Linked DNA regions of Homo sapiens: region 1 is linked to region 2. Evidence: promoter capture Hi-C in 16 types of primary human blood cells and fetal thymus (Javierre and others, 2016). All regions are on one chromosome and are shown on one strand. Each heading gives the region's core, a stretch centred on a gene start or on the middle of the fragment in contact. The rest is flanking DNA. Distances are from core to core; before and after follow the strand shown.

Region 1 (3,855 bases), core at 1,161-3,660, 200 kb after region 2:
CTTGTTTGTTTAGATTTTGCCATTCTCTAGGTGACTTACAAGGATGTTCAATGAATTATAAGAAGAAAGAATTTCTTCTTGGCAACTGCTATAAAGAGCCTTGTTTGGAGAGAATATGGTCCCAGAGCAGACCTTGAGCACATGACAGTTGTTCTTGGGACCAGGTCTGGGGAGACCACGTCTTAGCTGAAATAAACACAAGCAGAAGTTCAGTCCAGTCCTCAAACCAGGTTTTCAATAAATGTCTGTGTCACCCCTTTAAGAAACAGGAGAGCTGTGAAACACTCCAGAGAAATGCTGTTAGATGATGTGCTTGACTCTCCTTCAACTCCAAGAAGCTCTTGGGAGGCGCCATTTTTTTTTTTTTTTTTTAGAAAAAGATTACATTTTAGAAGAAGAATAACTGTTATTTACTACATTATTAATTTACACAAATGAAATAGTCTACTATTAAATAACCACATGACTGTACAACGCACAAGTCTTTTCTGGGTTTCAGGTGTCAGTTTTCTTCTCTGTAAAATATGAGGATTAGATTTCAGGGCTTCTTCCTCATCTAAAATGATAAAATCCAACTCAAAGACCTTCTTCTTTCTGGTGAAGTAACATGAAGCTTGAAGTCACTTTATCACATTGTTCTACATCTCTATTACTCTTTTTTTTTTTTTTTTTTGACAGAGTCTCGCTCTGTTGCCCAGGCTGGAGTACAGTGGCACGATCTTGGCTCACTGCAAGCTCTGCCTTCTGGGTTCACACCATTCTCCTGCCTCAGCCTCCCAAGTAGCTGGGACTACAGGCGCCCGCCACCACACCTGGCTAATTTTTGTATTTTTAGTAGAGACAGGGTTTCACCACGTCAGCCAGGATGGTCTCAATCTCCTGACCTCGTGATCCGCCTGCCTTGGCCTCCCAGAGTGCTGGGATTAACTCAAGACACAGTAGTTGGCATTGACTCTCTGATGAAGTTCCAGATGGGAGAGTTAGTACATTTGTGTATATAGAGAGAGCAGAAGTTACAGGGATATGGATTTTGACTCCATTTAAGGAAGAACTCTGAAATACAAAGCTTTGGCGCAGTGAACCACCGTGCCCGGCCTCTATTACTCTTAATGTATAGGAAAACACTAGCAGACCATTGAGTAGGTACTGAGGGAAGAATCCTGCATTCAGCACAATAACACATCAGTGGGAGCCTCGAGCCTAAAGCTACTTCCCTCCCACCCCAAAGACAGCAAAGGACAGGAGCTGGTCTTCGTATCTTTATGCTTCTTAGAAACACCTGTGTTTTAATTGTGGCTCTACAATAGAGTGTTTGGACATGGGCACTTTCTAGTTTGGCAGTAGTTTATTTGCTATGTATCCTTATTCCTTATTCCAATTCAGTGTTTTTACATGGGTTCTACTTTTCTCTCAAGAAGGTGATTTTTTTCTAAAGCAGGACCATATCCTAAATAGAGCAATTTTATACGCAGTGTCCAGGACACAGTATTTGATTATAAAATGATAATGATGAGAGCTTAAAAAATTCAAACTATAGAGCTGGTAGAGATTTTAGAGCAGCACTGTCTAATATGGTAGCCACTAGCCACGTGTAGCTATTTAAATTAATTAGAATTAAATTAAATTAAAAAATCAGTTCCTCAGTCATACAAGTGCTCAATAAGCACAGGTAGTCAGTGACTACCATTTTGGACCTCACAGATACGGAACATTTCCATCACTGCAGAAAGTTATATAGTACAATGCTGCCTTAGCGATCAACGAGACACAAAATCATATTTGTAAAAGATGTCAGGGAACTTGGAATCCACTTAATACATTCTTATATCCAGGACATTTCAAATATTTTCAGTATCAAATAATATATCACCTTACAAAGTGGCCATTCCACCTTAGGAAAGCTTTGTATTTGAGAGTTCTTCCTTAAATGGAGTCAAAATCCATATCCCTGTAGCTTCTGCTCTCTCCATATACACAAGTATACTAACTCTCCCACTTGGAACTTCATCAGAGAGTCAATGCCAACTACTGTGTCTTGAGTTAATTCCTCTTTCCCAGTGAACCCGTGCCACAGATGAGGAGGCTGAGGCTGGAGTTAGCAGTCCTCCCTGGAGACTCCATGACAGAACTAAGACTGTTGATGTATTCCGGTCTAGCTGAACTGCTTTCAAGTCTAGAAACTAATTCATTAAAGAATGTGTGTGCATAAATTTGTAGAGTTTAAGTTCTTAGTCTTTTATCTTTTTTCCATTTTGTTGTTGCTGTTGTTGTTTTGTCATTGCTTTATTCTCTTTTTGCGCTGCATACTTCCTAAGAGACTGTAAGCTATTCCTTCCCCAGAAAAGCAAAGATTACTCAGGCTCTGCATGAGTGTTTCAGAATATAAAGCAATTGCCCTCATCCACACCCCAAATAACCCCAGATGCCAAGCATAGAAATCACCAAATGGCTTGCTTCAGTTTGACAGTTCAAAAGCAGTTTAAGGGTAAAAGAGGAAACCAGAAGCATTAAAGATCAATGATGTACTTCCACATGGTGTCTAGAAGAGAGGATGCCTTTGATAACGTATCATAAAGAAAGGGCATCTACCTCTCCAAAGTGGAGACTCTGCAGGTGAGATACTGTGTTAAGTGCCAATTGCAGCTTTGGATCTGTTCAACAAATGCACATTGAAGTGTGGAGTCTGTGCTGGGGCAACAAAGATGATTGAAACATTGTGTTTACCCTCTAGTCACTGGCAGGGAGGCCAAGTGGAGACAATAAACAGTCAATTACCACCATAGATGACTTCACTGGTCACTCCAATGGGTTTGTTTTCAAAGGAACCAGCAGGTCAGTCTTGGAAGTCAAACAGTTACAGGCTGTTGCTGTAACAGCAAAGCAACTCCTACGTGTCACTAGATAAGGGGAACTACAGATCAAGCTTCCTAGGGAAGAAGGTTCTCTGACCAAATCAGCCTGGGCCCAGAAAGTAAGTTGGCACTGTGTGAACAGCTAGCTATATGCTTTACCCACAAAAAAACTGGTACCCGATCCAGTATATTAACTTTGGCATATAATCAGAAATAATGCTACCATCTGTGCAGAACTATCTCTTCCTTTTACACAATCACCAGCCTCCACCAGCAACCATTCCCCTCAATATCCAGTACAGTGCTAGGTTCATGGTTGCACATACACACACACCACATAGATAGGATTTTATATAGAATTATTGTATATATATGTATATATACACACATATATAGGTATGATTTTGTTACATGTTTTATATGTTAATGATCATAATTTATACATAAATGTATATTTACATAAGGCACATACATTTACACTTATAAATACTTGTAATATTTTTATGTAACCCATATGTATGTATATGTATGCACACATATACACTGAAAACATTTCTAGAAGGATATAGAAGAAAGTTTTCATGGTGGTTACCTTAGCAGGGTAAGAATGGGGTTCTTGAGGTTAGAATAGGAAGATTACATTTGTATATTATTTTGTAGCCTTTTACATAGTTTAATTTTTTACACTGTCTATTACTTTTAAAACAACAAAACATTTTATTAATATTTGGTTATAACAAGGATACCATCATCTATCTTCACACTCCAAAGTGAGTTTTAACATGCAATTAGGCTGGGTTTATCAGGGTGGCTTACCTTAGACTATTTAAGTTAAGATTTCTTCTACATCTGATGACCTAAGTTAGCCCGAAATAAGATTAAATGAGGTGATATATGTGCCTATGTGACAGTGCTTTGCAAACTATAAATTCCTACATGTAGGTCTGTAACCTAGCTTGTTGGAGTGTGCCCAGAACCCAACTTGATGAAATCATCTAGGTCC
Region 2 (3,874 bases), core at 435-2,934:
TCTTTATGTTGCTGGAGTTGCATTATGTGGCTCTGATTAAACTAGAGTAACATCTGTAAGCTGTCTCCTTTACATCTTTCAGAAGGGTAGTTAGAAGCAGATTTCTCTTGAATTAATAGAATTTGAGTCAATGGGATTGCATCTGTGTCCCCTTAAATCCTATTATTTTCTGGGCTTGGATTCACCCTGGCACAAGCTCTTTCTGGCACCAGATTTTGTTCATTCTCTCTTAACTGGCACAGCTACTAGGTAGCTTTACACACCTAATGTAGCCTAGGAGCTTGGATGATTATGCTTATGCTCTATCTGAATCCAAAAACAACCTAATGAAGCTTTTAATCTTGGAAAATAAGTCATATAGCATTATAAATCTCAAGTTCTATTGGTAAAAAGATAAAGTCCAAAATTTTACTTTGTATTTCTCAGTGAAAATTTTATCTTTAATACTACTAATAATAGCTAATGCTTGTATGGTATTTACCTTATGCCAGACACGGTTCTGAGTGCTTTACATTTACTTACTAATTCTCACAAAGCCATATTAAGTATATACAGTTATTCATTTAAGTAGACATGAAACTGAATCACAAACAGAGTAGGTAATTTGCCAAAGATCATGAAAGCTAGGACATGGCAGAGCTGAGATTTCACTTCAGATATCTGGCCCCAGACTCTGTGCTATTAGTGTTATGCTGCCTCTCACTTAGAAACCTTTCCTAAAACAAGAAAAGATTTTTAAAAGTGGGCTCCTTGGAAATAGATTTTGGTATTTTACATACTAAAATGACATAATCAAATATTTTAGAGTTTTACATTTTTAAATGAAACCATAAATGAACATTTTTGTTTAGAATTGTCTTATCGATAAAGTGAGAATATTATTTTTATGTTTTCTTCCCACCCCCACCAACACACAAATATATATTAAAAATATAGGTAAAACTGTTTTAATAGAGGCTTCATTATCAAACTTGGGTTTTCAAAAAAACAAATTAAAGTTACTCTTTACCTCAGATGAGCTGCTATTAGTCCCATCTGTGCAAATTTTCATATTACTTTGAATTTTATTAAAACAGAAATTGAACATAAAATATTGTACTTACCTTCTTGGGCATGTAAAACTTAAATGTGAGCATCCTGGTGAGTTTGGGATTCTTGTAATTCTAAGAAAGTATAATGCATTGTTATTAAGAAATGATCTCCAGCTAGATTACTAAATGTAATAATTTTAGTAAGAAAGGAAATATACTTACATTAATTCCATTCAAAATCATCTGTAAATCCAGCAGTAAATGCTCCAGTTGTAGCTGTGTTTTCTTTGTAGAACTTGAAGTAGGTGCACTGTTTGTGACAAGTGCAAGACTTAGTGCAATGCAAGACAGGAGTTGCATCCTGTACATTGTGGCAGGAGTTGAGGTTACTGTGAGTAGTGATTAAAGAGAGTGATAGGGAACTCTTGAACAAGAGATGCAATTTATACTGTTAATTCTGGAAAAATATTATGGGGGTGTCAAAATGTTTTACATATTACACATATTTTCAAAGACTTTACCTGTCTGAAAAAACATTACCTTCATTTTTCCTCTTCTGATGACTCTTTGGAATTTCTTTAAACCCCCAAAGACTGACTGAATGGATGTAGGTGAAATCCCTCTTTGTTACATTAGCCCACACTTAGGTGATAGCTCTAATTCATGCAATTAACGCCTTCTGTATGAAACAGTTTTTCCTCCTTTCTTTAAGGGGGTGGGGATACAAAAGTAACTCAGAAAATTTTCTTTGTCATAAAACTACACTGAACATGTGAATAGCATATTGTGGTGGACAAGAGCAAGAGTAAACAGATGAAAAGAATAAATGTTTAGATTTGTTGATAAAACAGGAAGTGTATTGGTTTCCTGTTTCAGAATGGTTTTACCTTTTTATCCACACAATGAGCTAATTGCATACAATAAGATAGATTGCTTCTTACATGTCAGCTAGAGAAATACTAAGATTAGAATACTTAAAATGCTTATTGAGCTTGAGGTACTGTTTAACGCTATTTTAATTTAAAATGATTATATATCTGTTTAAGTCTCTTAATGTCTATTGTACATTTTTTAAAGGGTGCGATTGTTAAATACTCAGAAAAAGGTTTGCATTCAAGGATACTGATGCTAGTTTTATAATAGACTTTGTATGTGTTATGTGTAAACCAGTCCATGTTTCTCGTTTTTATGTCTTTACCTCTTTAATGGATTTTTATTTATCCTCTAAATCACCTGGGACACTATGAATGTAACAATAATCGTTATGAAATATGATCTTGTTTTTAGTCAGAAGACTAGGATATTTAGGATAGGTGTTCATTCATCCTCAGTACAGTGCACAAACTGGCTGAACAATTGTACGGATATATACTTCTAATTTAACCTGGGGACACTTGAGGAGATCCTGTCTCAGAGAGAGTCCTTGTAAAGCTTCCATTCTATGGCCTTATTTATTTCTTACCTGGACTTTTTTTTTTTTTTTAAAGATGGTATTGTCTGTGTTTTTGTTTGTTTTTTTAAGACAATATTGTCTGGTCTTTAAACAGACATCTAGCACCTATAATGCCTTCAGGTATATAGAAAGAGAGAAAAGAGAACAGTGTACAGGCAGGCACTTAGTCTAATATAAGTCTTACAGACTTGTGAAGTGATGGCTCCTATTTTGCAGATTAGAAAACTGAGGCTCAGAGAAGTTAAGTAATTTGCTCTAGGTCACTCAGCCCTTATTGCCAGTAAGGGGCAGAAGAAGGATTTGAAAAGAGAATGTTCTGACTCCAAAAATCCACTCTCTTACCATTTGTATTTTTTCAAAGAACCTGATTTGTAATAGGGAAGATATGTACATACACAAGTGTAGTCCTGGGTGATAGGTGATTGCTGCCCCAAGGGAGGTGGATATAAGGAATCTTGAATAAGGAACAATTAATTTAAACTGGATTTTGAGGAGGGTGCATAGGCAGGAATGATTAAAGCAGTCTAAGGAACAGTCAAATGTAATATTTTACAAAGAACAGAGAAAAATGGTTCAATAAGAGTTTTCTATGCGTTAGGTAATGTTCGGAGAATATAAAACAAATTTAAAAATAAAGATTATAGTCCCTCAAGTAGAAAAAAAAATGAAGAAAAGGTCAGATTAGGGCCAAATCTCATGAACTTTTTATACGAAAAAATGCAAAATGTCTCTATACATTTCAGATCAAAATCACATTAACGCTGTTATAAGGGGCAGGCTATTTGGTAGTCTGTGTGTTATTTATTTAATATAATAAAGTACAGCTTTATTATACTTGTTTTGCTTCTCTAAAGAGTTTCAGTGTCTAATCCCAGCATCATCACTCAGGCCTTTACCCTTCCAGAATGGAAGAATTCAAGCCCACACATTTTCCTATGTGGGGGCTTTTCCAATGAGGTATTTGATGTTCTCCAGTCTTGATATTTCTATTTCTCTGGCTATTTCCATTAGAGAATGGGGCAATATATGGCTATACTTCTGGGACCCTGTAGAAAACTGAGTTCTTAGACCCCTAGTTTATCTCTGTTAATGCACAGTAGGCACCATTATAGAAGTTGGCTTTTTCATTTCTTTCTTGAAATACGTGTGGAAAAGCTACATTCGCTGTGACATACTTTCGCTTTCTCACGTCTGACACATCAGCTGGCTTTTCTGGTTGTGGCAGTAAAGTCACTAGTAGACTGCTAACTACCACGTGTGTCATACCCCCTGCTTCTCCTTTTACTATGCAGAATTTTACTATTAAACAAGAAGCTATTTTTAGTTGCTTAGCATTGTTTGTGACTTAGCCTCTTAGACTCAAGAGTGGCCCAAGTCCTTTCAAAGGGCA

Evidence for each region. Contacts are between HindIII fragments. The CHiCAGO score rates a contact against its expected background, and 5 or more counts as called.
Region 1: a fragment that was not itself captured here is called in contact with the fragment with the promoter of IL2 in region 2 in 1 of 17 cell types (activated CD4 T cells); the score reaches 5.1 in activated CD4 T cells.

Annotation. Positions count from the first base shown.
Region 1 is chr4:122,658,973-122,662,827 of GRCh38, forward strand. The region is part of intron 10 of IL21-AS1 (IL21 antisense RNA 1); the gene reads left to right. Among named protein-coding and RNA genes, the nearest start is that of IL21, 40 kb to the left of the region's middle. The HindIII fragment of the contact is 1,022 bases long and covers 1,900-2,921 here.
Region 2 is chr4:122,455,041-122,458,914 of GRCh38, forward strand. IL2 (interleukin 2) reads right to left here and starts at 1,685. Exons shown (of 4, transcript NM_000586.4): 1 at 1,254-1,685; 2 at 1,104-1,163. The coding sequence starts at 1,400. RefSeq lists an enhancer at 3,671-3,730. The HindIII fragment of the contact is 2,130 bases long and covers 331-2,460 here.